Regions from separate parts of the Homo sapiens genome. Here region 2 is linked to region 1. Evidence: promoter capture Hi-C in human tissues and cell types (Jung and others, 2019). All regions are on one chromosome and are shown on one strand. Each heading gives the region's core, a stretch centred on a gene start or on the middle of the fragment in contact. The rest is flanking DNA. Distances are from core to core; before and after follow the strand shown.

Region 1 (4,415 bases), core at 499-2,998:
TATGCACCACCATGCCCAGCTAATTTTGCAATTTTTAGTAGAGAAAGGGTTTCACCATGTTGGTCAGGCTGGTCTTGAACTCCTTACCTCAGGTGATCCACTCACCTCAGCTTCCCAAAGTGCTGGGATTACAGATGTGAGCCACTGCGCCCGGCCTACAGTACGATTTTGAGCTCCAAAATGATTGTCTCCTTTTCAATCATCTGCTAAACACAGACATAATTAAAACCAATTAAACAAACACAAGGAAGGTGTGAGGTGAAATAGTCGAAACGTGTGTCCCCACACATCCAAGGCAGTCCTTTCCACATCTGGGGACTGGTACCCAGGGTGGCGCCTAGTGGTACCTGAGATGATTTTAGAAAATATACTGGGCTGGGTGTGGTGGCTCACGCCTGTAATCCCAGCACTTTGGGAGGCCAAGGTGGGAGGATCACCTGATGTCAGGAGTTCAAGACCAGCCTAGCCAATATGGTGAAACCCCATCTCTACTAAAAATACTAAAAAAATTAGCCGGGTTTAGTGGTGCACGCCTGTAATCCCAGCTACTCGAGAGGCTGAGCCAGAAGAATCGCTCGAACCAAGGAGGTAGAGGTTGCAGTGAGCCGAGATTGTGCCACTGCACTCTAGCCTGGACGACAGAGTGAGACTCTGTCTCAAAAAAGAAAAGGAAAAAAAAAAAAGAAAGCCAATTTAAAGAAAATAGTAAGTGATATTTGGTGATAAGAAGACTTGAGAAACGAAGTTGCTAATTGAATGACTAGTGATTGGAAAATACCAACTCAGACCGGGTGCAGTGGCTCATGCCTATCATCCCAGCACTTTGGGAGGCCGAGGTGGGCGGATCACTTGAGGTCAGGAGTTTGAGACCAGCCTGGCCAACATGGTGAAACCCCATCTCTACTTAAAATACAAAAACTTAACTGGGCATGGTGGCAGGCGGCTGTAATCCCAGCTGCTCAGGAATCCCAATTACTCATGAAGCTCAGGCAGGAGAATCGCTTGAACCCGGGAGGCAGAGGTTGCAGTGAGCCAAGATCATGCCACTGCACTCCAGCCTGGGCGACAGAGCAAGACCCAGTCTCAAAAAAAAAAAAAAAGAAAAGAAAAGAAAAGAGAAAAGAAAATACCAGCTCCAAGACTGCAATTTGTCACACTTACTGTAAGGCCACGGTGTGATTTTTATCTATGTTTGATGTGGTTGCTTCAAGTACTATGCTCACCACTGAACACTTGGCTTCATTAATAGACAAAAACCAAATTTTAAATTTGTCCCAGTTTTCCCAATTTTGGGAAGAGAGGCCAAATGTTAGACCACACACAATTCCAGCGGATTTCAGGCCAACAAAGCCTTGATGTGTCTAGCCCACTTAGCTTATTAACGGACTAAAACTGCATTTGTAATTAATTCCATTTCATACAGAAGCCGGAAGTCTCTACCTGAGGCTGAAATAAGAAAGGGATCCTGTCACAGAAATACTAGACACAGTAATCCACACAAGGTTAACAAAACAGTGGGAAATATGGAAACAAATACCTAATGCCCCGCCTGGATTCGTTCTTTTAAGGTTGGGGCGACAGTAGGAAAACCACGTGTCACTTGCCCAAGCATTCAGCCTTAAAGGGAATTTCTCCCTCAGGGTCTCCAGGAGGCGGGGAGGCGGTGGCTCCTCCGGCCCCGCCCCCCCACCAGCAGAGGGCCCGCTCACCACCCCGTAGGCCCCGCCCCTGCGTCTCTGCCCGCCCCGTGGCGCCCGAGTGCACTGAAGATGGCGGCTGCTGTAGGACGGTTGCTCCGAGCGTCGGTGAGTGGCTGTCGGCTGGGGACAGGCGTGGAGACACTGGTGGCTCCGGGAACGTGCTTCTCAGACAGGACCCCGCGCTTCTGGGCATGAGGGCCATTCGCCCTTCTTGGAGGGTTTCCGCGGGTAACGGACCCAGAGGCCTCCCTCCGGGAAGGTTCCATGCGCCTGCGCAGAACCGCCCTTCCCCACTCCATCCTCGCGGTCTCTTCCCCGAGTCCCTCCTCTTTCGGCGTCCCCGGTCCCCAGGCCCATCTCCACTTAAGGTCCTGGCCCTGATTCTGCCACCGACCCTGTGATCTTGGGCAAGCGCCTTCGCCTTTCTCAGACTGTGTACTTAAGATGGAAAGAATGATGCCTACATCAAGGCGTTGCTGTGAACAGCCCCTTAAATACTGGATAAAAACGCGCAAAGTGCTAAAAAACTCACAAAGGCTTTCCCTCCCAATCCCACTCCCGCGTGTTTCTGCTGCTGTTTCCTGCTTAACTGTGGGCAATGCGTCGTGCTCTTTTGGTACACGGCTTTCTCTGGTGGGGTTCAACACAGCCCCTTTCGTTCTCCTGAGTCATTTTGAACATTAAAGTTGAGCAAACCGGCAGAGTGCGGTGGCTCACGCCTGTAATCCTAGCACTTTGGGAGGCCGAGGCGGGCAGATCACTTGAGCCCAGGAGTTTGAGACCAGCCTGGACAATAATAGTGAGACCTTGTCTCTAAAAAAAAAAATAGCCGGGCATGGTGGTCAGTGCTCCTGGGGAGGCTAAGGTGGGAGGATCACTTGAGCCCAGGAGGTCGAGACTGCAGCGAGCCGAGATCGCGCCACTGCACTCTAGCCTGGGTAAAAGAGCGAGACTCTGTTTCAAAAAAAAAAAAAAAAAGTTGAGTAAACATGTCCCTTGAGCCTTTAACAGACTCCCAGAGGCTGAATTTGGCTCTTCTTGTTTACTTGTCGCTGGTGCTGGAGGGGCCTTGTTTTTCTAAGGAAAACCTTGAAATGGTAGAACATACTCAGCAGATAGTGCTGGGAAAAGCCTGCACAAGTCCCCTGGCTTCTGAACCCTGTGTTGCTTTAAGCGCATGGAGTTTCTGATTTTTTTTTTTTTTTTTTTTGAGACGGAGTTGTCGCCCAGGTTAGAGTGCAATGGCGCGATCTCGGCTCTGCAACCTCTGCCTCCCGGGTTCAAGCAATTCTCCTGCCTCAGCCTCCCAAGCAGCTGGAATTACAGGTGCCCGCCACCGCCGCCTGGCTAAGTTTTGTGTTTTTAGTAGAGATGGAGTTTCACCATCTTGGCCAGGCTGGTCTCGAACTCCTGACCTGGTGATCAACCCGTCTTGGCCTCCCAAAGTGCTGGGATTACAGGTGTGAGCAACCGCGCCCAGCCGGTCTTTGTGTTCTTATAGTTCCTCTCCACCTTCCAGTCTCCTAGGAGAAGGAAGCAGAAGGGAGTGTTAAGAACATGCAGATCCAATCCATGCTCTTAGAGTTTGGGGTTTGCTATTTGGTTCACAGGAACAGGGACAGCTGAAACCACCGTTGGCACGATGCCCTTTCAGCCTTCAGTCACCAGTCCAGGAAAACTTTCTAATAAAAAGTTTCTCTTTCCAGGTTGCCCGACATGTGAGTGCCATTCCTTGGGGCATTTCTGCCACTGCAGCCCTCAGGCCTGCTGCATGTGGAAGAACGAGCTTGACAAATTTATTGTGTTCTGGTTCCAGTCAAGCAAAATTATTCAGCACCAGTAAGTGTTATGTCATGTCTTGGCTGGAGCCAGGTAAAGGAAAAATGAACCATCGTCTCTGGACAGGGGCTCTGAACCCTGGCCAAACGTTAGAGTCACCTGGGAGCTTTCAGGAACACAGCACTGCCCCCGTCCCACCCCAGACAAGTTAGTCTGTGGGGTGAGACCAGGATGTGCCGGGTGATTCTAACGTGCAGCCAGGGTTGAGAATCACTGAGGCAAACTGCCCTTGTCACATTTCCATGTTGGTTGTCAGAGTTTCTAATCCACTGTGTTGAGGAGGGTGTTACTGGGAGCTCAGATGCCTTCTGAGTCTAGTGTGTCTGAAGAGCTGTGAGTGGTGGGCAGCCTGTGGGGGACCTGAGAGGGCAGCTGCTCTAAGATTCAAACCTGTGTAATGGCCCCAGCTGGCCACTTAGGAACCAGACCTGTCTAATGGTATCTGTAATCTGAGCGAAATTTAGCTGTTTCTTGAGATTTACACTCCCTTCTCTAGGATATGGGCTTTGCTAAGATCAGCCTCAGATAATGAGTGGTATTTGAAAATACCTTGTCTAGATTTGACTAGCCTTTGAAAAAGCCCGTATTTAATATGTAATGGTTTGTGGGGATATACTTTAGTAAAGCCTTTGTTTGTGGGCAAAATGTTCTAAGAGCTTTCGCAATTTTACTACCCTGGAGCTTCAAAATATTTCTAGTAGTGATGTGATACCACAGGCTTAAAACTTTACTCCACTGGTTTCGAATCCTCATCCCCAGCAGCGCCTCCTGTTTCTGTTCATGGCGGTGTCAGGCATTTTGACATTGGAACTACTCTGTCGCTCATTCCTGGGTAGAAGCAAGTCCTTTTCAGTTTTGACACATCTCTTGCATCCA
Region 2 (4,746 bases), core at 1,494-3,993, 46 kb before region 1:
TTGAGAGGCCAAGGAGGGCGGATCACCTGAGACTGGGAGTTAGAGACCAGCCTAGCCAACACAGTGAAACGTCTTTACTAAAAATACAAAAATTAGTCAGATGTGCTGGCGGGCGCATATAATCCCAGCTACTTGGGAGGCGGAGGCAGGAAAACCACTTGAGCCCAGGAGGCCAAGGTGGCAGTGAGCCAAGATCACGCCACTGCACTCCAGCCTGGGCAACAAAGCAAGACACCATCTCAAAAGAAAAGATACAGGCCAGGTACAGTGGTTCATACCTGTAATCCCAGCACTTTGGGAGGCTGAGGCAGATGGGTCATTTGAGGTCAGGAGTTTGAGACCAACCTGACCAACATGGTGAAACCCCATCTCTACTAAAAATACAAAAAAAAGAAAAAGAAAAAAAAAAGCCGGGCATGGTAGCAGGCGCCTGTAATCCTAGCTACTCAGGTGGCAGAGACAAGGGAATCTCTTGAACCCAGGAGGCAGAGATTGCAGTGAGCCGAGATCGCACCACTGTACTCCAGCCTGGGCAAGCGTGAGACTGTGTCTCAAAAAAAAAAAAAAAAAGATACAGAGACACAAAGTTACCAGCCTTGGTCTCTGGCAGGTTAGCAACAAAGCTAGGACAGAACTCACATCACTAGTCTCCACCTTTTGCTACTTCCAACTGTAGAAAAATTAAGCAGAAGAGAATCAGCACGCTTGAACCTGGGAGGCAAAGGTTGCAGTGGGCCGAGATTGCTCCACTGCACTCCAGCCTGGGTGACAGAGTTAGGCTTCATCTCAAAAAAAAAAAAAAAATTAAAATTAAAAAAAAAAAAAAGAAAAAGAAGAAGATGCCAGGCACAGTGGCTCACACCTGTAATCCCAGCTCTTTGGGGAGCCGAGACGGGCAGATCACAAGGTCAGGAGTTCGAGCCCAGACTGGCCAATATGATGAAACCTCGTCTCTATTAAAAATACAAAAATTAGCCGGGTGCTGGCTCATGCCTGTAATCCCAGCACTTTGGGAGGCTGAAGCGGGTGGATCATGAGGTCGGGAGATCGAGACCATCCTGGCCAACATGGTGAAACACCATCTCTACTAAAAATACAAAAATTAGCAAGGCATGGTGGCGGGCACCTGTAGTCCCAGCTACACGGGAGGCTGAAGCAGGAGAATGGCGTGAACCCGGGAGGCGGAGCTTGCAGTGAGCCAAGATCATGCCACTGCACACCAGCCTGGGTGACAGAGCGAGACTCCATCTCAAAAAAAAAAAGAAAAAAAAATACAAAAATTAGCCGGGCACAGTGGTGCATGCCTGTAGTCCCAGCTACTCAGGAGGCTGAGACAGGAGAATTGCTTGAACCCAGGAGGAGGAGGTTGCAGTGAGCCAAGATCGCGCCATTGCACTCCAGCCTGGGTGACAGAGCGAGACTCTATCTCAAAAAAAAAAAAAAAAAAGAGAGAGAGAGAAGAAAATCAGCAGTCCTCTCCACATCACCCTAAACTATGAAATCTGAGCATCACCAGTCAGGATACAGCTAGTATCTAGACAAACCTTGCAGGAGAATGCAGAACTGGGTGAGGTTTTGCCAGGAGCCCAGAAGAGTGCTTGATAGGGCCCATTCCCCTCCCAACCTCTTCCCCCGTATGTGACAACAGTGTCCCCGACAACAAGCCTTAAAAGGTAGGTAATACCTATCACTCTCTCACTCCTTGTGGGATGTCTTGAAGTCCACATGGCAATATTTCCACCCCTCACATCTAGATGGAAAATTCTTACATTTTCTCAACAATATTTACTTACTGTTTTCTTTGGCCAGATGAAGTACTGTGTATTTTTAAACTTTCCAGGAAGACAGTTTATTAAGATAATACAGTGTAGGATAATCAAACTGTTTATTTTTGACTTTTGATTTAATCTTCCTTTCTGTAATCTACTAAAGAAAACATTAGAATCATGCATTTGCCTTTCTTGGATTGCGAGAATCAGTTCAATTAGCAGTGGCGGGTTTTTTTCCTGTTTATTTCTACTACAAATGTAACCCCTCTTGGCTCTCATTCTTCCCTTGGGGTAATTTTTGTTTTAATGTGTAATGCCTGCTCTTCAAATTAACATCAAATTTTATTCTGAAGTACCCACAGTTGAATTATCAGTGGAAAATGCACCTGCAAATTCTCAAGATTTGAAGGGTGAGAAGAGACTCCAGGATCACCTGGCCAAGCTGCACATTTATGCAGCTGAGGATGGTTTTGCTTGGAGAGGAGCCACACAGCACATGAGTGGCACACTCTCCTTTTCCCTTTGAACTTCTCATAGAACCTTGATCAAGCTTTCAATGGAATGGAAACATCTTGCCTCAATGCACAGCAGGAGAAGATACCATATTACCTCGAAAATTAAAAAGTGGGTGACTAGGCTGGGCGCAGTGGCTCACGCCTGTAATCCTAGCACTTTGTAAGGCCAAGGCAGTTGGATAACCTGAGGTCAGAAGTTCGAGACCAGCCTGACCAACATGGTGAAACCCCATCTCTACTAAAAAAAAATGCAAAAGTTAGCCGGGCATGGTGGCGGGCGCCTGTAATCCCAGCTACTCGGGGCGCTGAGGCAAGAGAACCGCTTGAACCTGGGAGGCAGAAGGTTGCAGTGAGCCGAGATCGTGCCATTGCACTCCAGCCTGGGCGACAGAGCAACACTCCGTCTCAATAAATAAATAAATAAATAAATAAATAAATAAATAATAAATTAATAAATAAATAGTGGGTGACTGGATCTCACTTCTGGCAAGTTATGAAGCCTTGAGCTTTGCCAGATGTTAGCAACAACATCATTCCCACCTGCTAATAAATCCTATCCTAAGGTTGGTTATGTCTGTTACTTGGCTGCAATGCACAATGAGAGCCCAGTCTGGGAATCTGGAGGGCAGGGTTCTGGCTATGTTTGTTTGTTTGTTTGTTTTTTAAGAGACAGGGTCTCACTCTGTTGCCCAGATTGGAGTGCAGTGGCTATTCACTGGAGTGCAGTGCATAGCACACTGCAGCCCAGAACTCCTGGCTCAAGTGATCTTCCTGGCTTGGGAGTAGCTGGGACTACAGGTGAGTGCCACCGTGCCGGACTTGGGGTTCTGCTTTTAGTTCTACAGTGGGTATCATAGTTGTCTTCTAATATTAGAAGGGCCCCCTCAGGCAAAGAGTGGTGCATTTATCCTGGATACCTCCAAAGAGCAGAACCAGGACCTAATGGGTTAACATGGCACCAGACATACCAGGTCTCCACAGGCCGACTTGGGTTTACTTTTAGCATCTCGTTAGTTCCAGTAAGATACAAAGAAAAAGCCCTGGTGTCAGCCCTCAGGAAGTCTACAATTTAGTGGGTGAGGCAAGAAGCCTATCTAATATATATAGATATATATAATATATATATATTATTATAGATATTTTTAATCCAGTGGTTTAAAATCGGATAGGCTGCTTAGAAGAAGGTATGAGCTCCCCGTCTCTAGAAATATTTGAGCAGAAGACAGAAACCAACTGCCAGGGAACCTGCAGAGTCCTATTTGGGGACCCGGTCAGAGTAGTCTGGATGTCCAAGATAATCTCAGAAGGCACTCAGAAAACCCACCAGCTCCAGGGTTCTATAGAGCAGCAGTTCCCACGCCTGGTTCATCCTCAGAACCTCCTGTTTTAAAAATACAGGCTATCCCCAAAAGCTGCTGCTTCAGTACAGGCAGGGCCTGTGTTCCAGGGTTCACTGCGTCCTCCAAAGAAGATTATGTTGAAGTCCTAACCCCCGGTACCTCAGAATGTGACTTTATTTGGAAATAGGATCTTTATGGAGGTAATCAAGTTAACATGAGGTCATTCAAGTGGGCCATGATCCAATAGCACTGGTGTCCTTATACAAAGGATAACTCTGGACACAGGGACAGATGCACAAGAGGAAGACGCACAGGGAGAAGACAGCCACCAACAAGCCAAGGAGAGAGGCCTGGAACGGGTCTTCCCCGGGTACCTTCAGAGGGAGCACGGCCCTGCACACACCTTGATTTCAAACGTCTGGCCTCCAGAACTGTGCGACAATAGATGTCTGTTGTTCTAAACCACCCAGTTGGTGGCACTTTATTACGTATCCCTAGGAAACACACAGCCTGGGGATGGGTGTTAGAGTTGCAGAGCTGCCCTGGAGGAAAATCCAGGCCAGGGGACCCATCCTGCTTTGGAGCCTCTTTCTGCTCCTGCACGGCCACCCATGCGGGCCCCTTTTGGCCCTCAGATCCCTTCTTTGCGGAAGGAAGGAGCTGGCTTCAGTGTGAGGAGCTCCCTCCCACACTCTGACAGGACACGGAGCCCGTAGCCTCAGCACGCAGTGAAGGGGCAGCCCTTCCCCATGTAGAGCTAGCTCACACATCTGCAAATGTTTCCCAGAAGAAAATGCCATTCTCCTCCAATTGTTAACAAAATTACTGAAGGCCGTGGGGCTCTGGACTATGCCCTCATGCCAAGCTTATCTCGGAGGGAGGCAGAGCAGGAGGAGGGGCCACTGATTTGTTTTGTGTGGTGCTGTTTTTAATGGGCGTTTTCTATTCTCAGGTGGGAACCGTAGGGCCCTTGTCTAGGTAAATTCCATGCAAACCTTTAGTGAAAGCAGTTACCAGAGGAAGAGCTACAGAATTCCACAGAGGAGGATACTGTGCCAGATCAAAGACAGGGCAAATGACCTCAGGAGGACTGACACCAGCACAGGCAGCACTTGGAGGGGA

Evidence for each region. Contacts are between HindIII fragments. The study calls those that stand out against the background at their distance.
Region 2: a fragment that was not itself captured here is called in contact with the fragment with the promoter of PRDX3 in region 1 in 2 of the 25 tissues and cell types used here (mesenchymal stem cells and spleen).

Annotation. Positions count from the first base shown.
Region 1 is chr10:119,176,145-119,180,559 of GRCh38, reverse strand. PRDX3 (peroxiredoxin 3) reads left to right here and starts at 1,748. Exons shown (of 7, transcript NM_006793.5): 1 at 1,748-1,805; 2 at 3,407-3,539. The coding sequence starts at 1,770. RefSeq lists a silencer at 1,606-1,715 and enhancers at 1,746-2,225, 2,225-2,869. The HindIII fragment of the contact is 15,713 bases long and covers 1-4,415 here.
Region 2 is chr10:119,222,372-119,227,117 of GRCh38, reverse strand. All of the region lies in intron 1 of GRK5 (G protein-coupled receptor kinase 5), which reads right to left. Among named protein-coding and RNA genes, the nearest start is that of GRK5-IT1, 16 kb to the right of the region's middle. RefSeq lists an enhancer at 4,234-4,745. The HindIII fragment of the contact is 5,772 bases long and covers 1-4,746 here.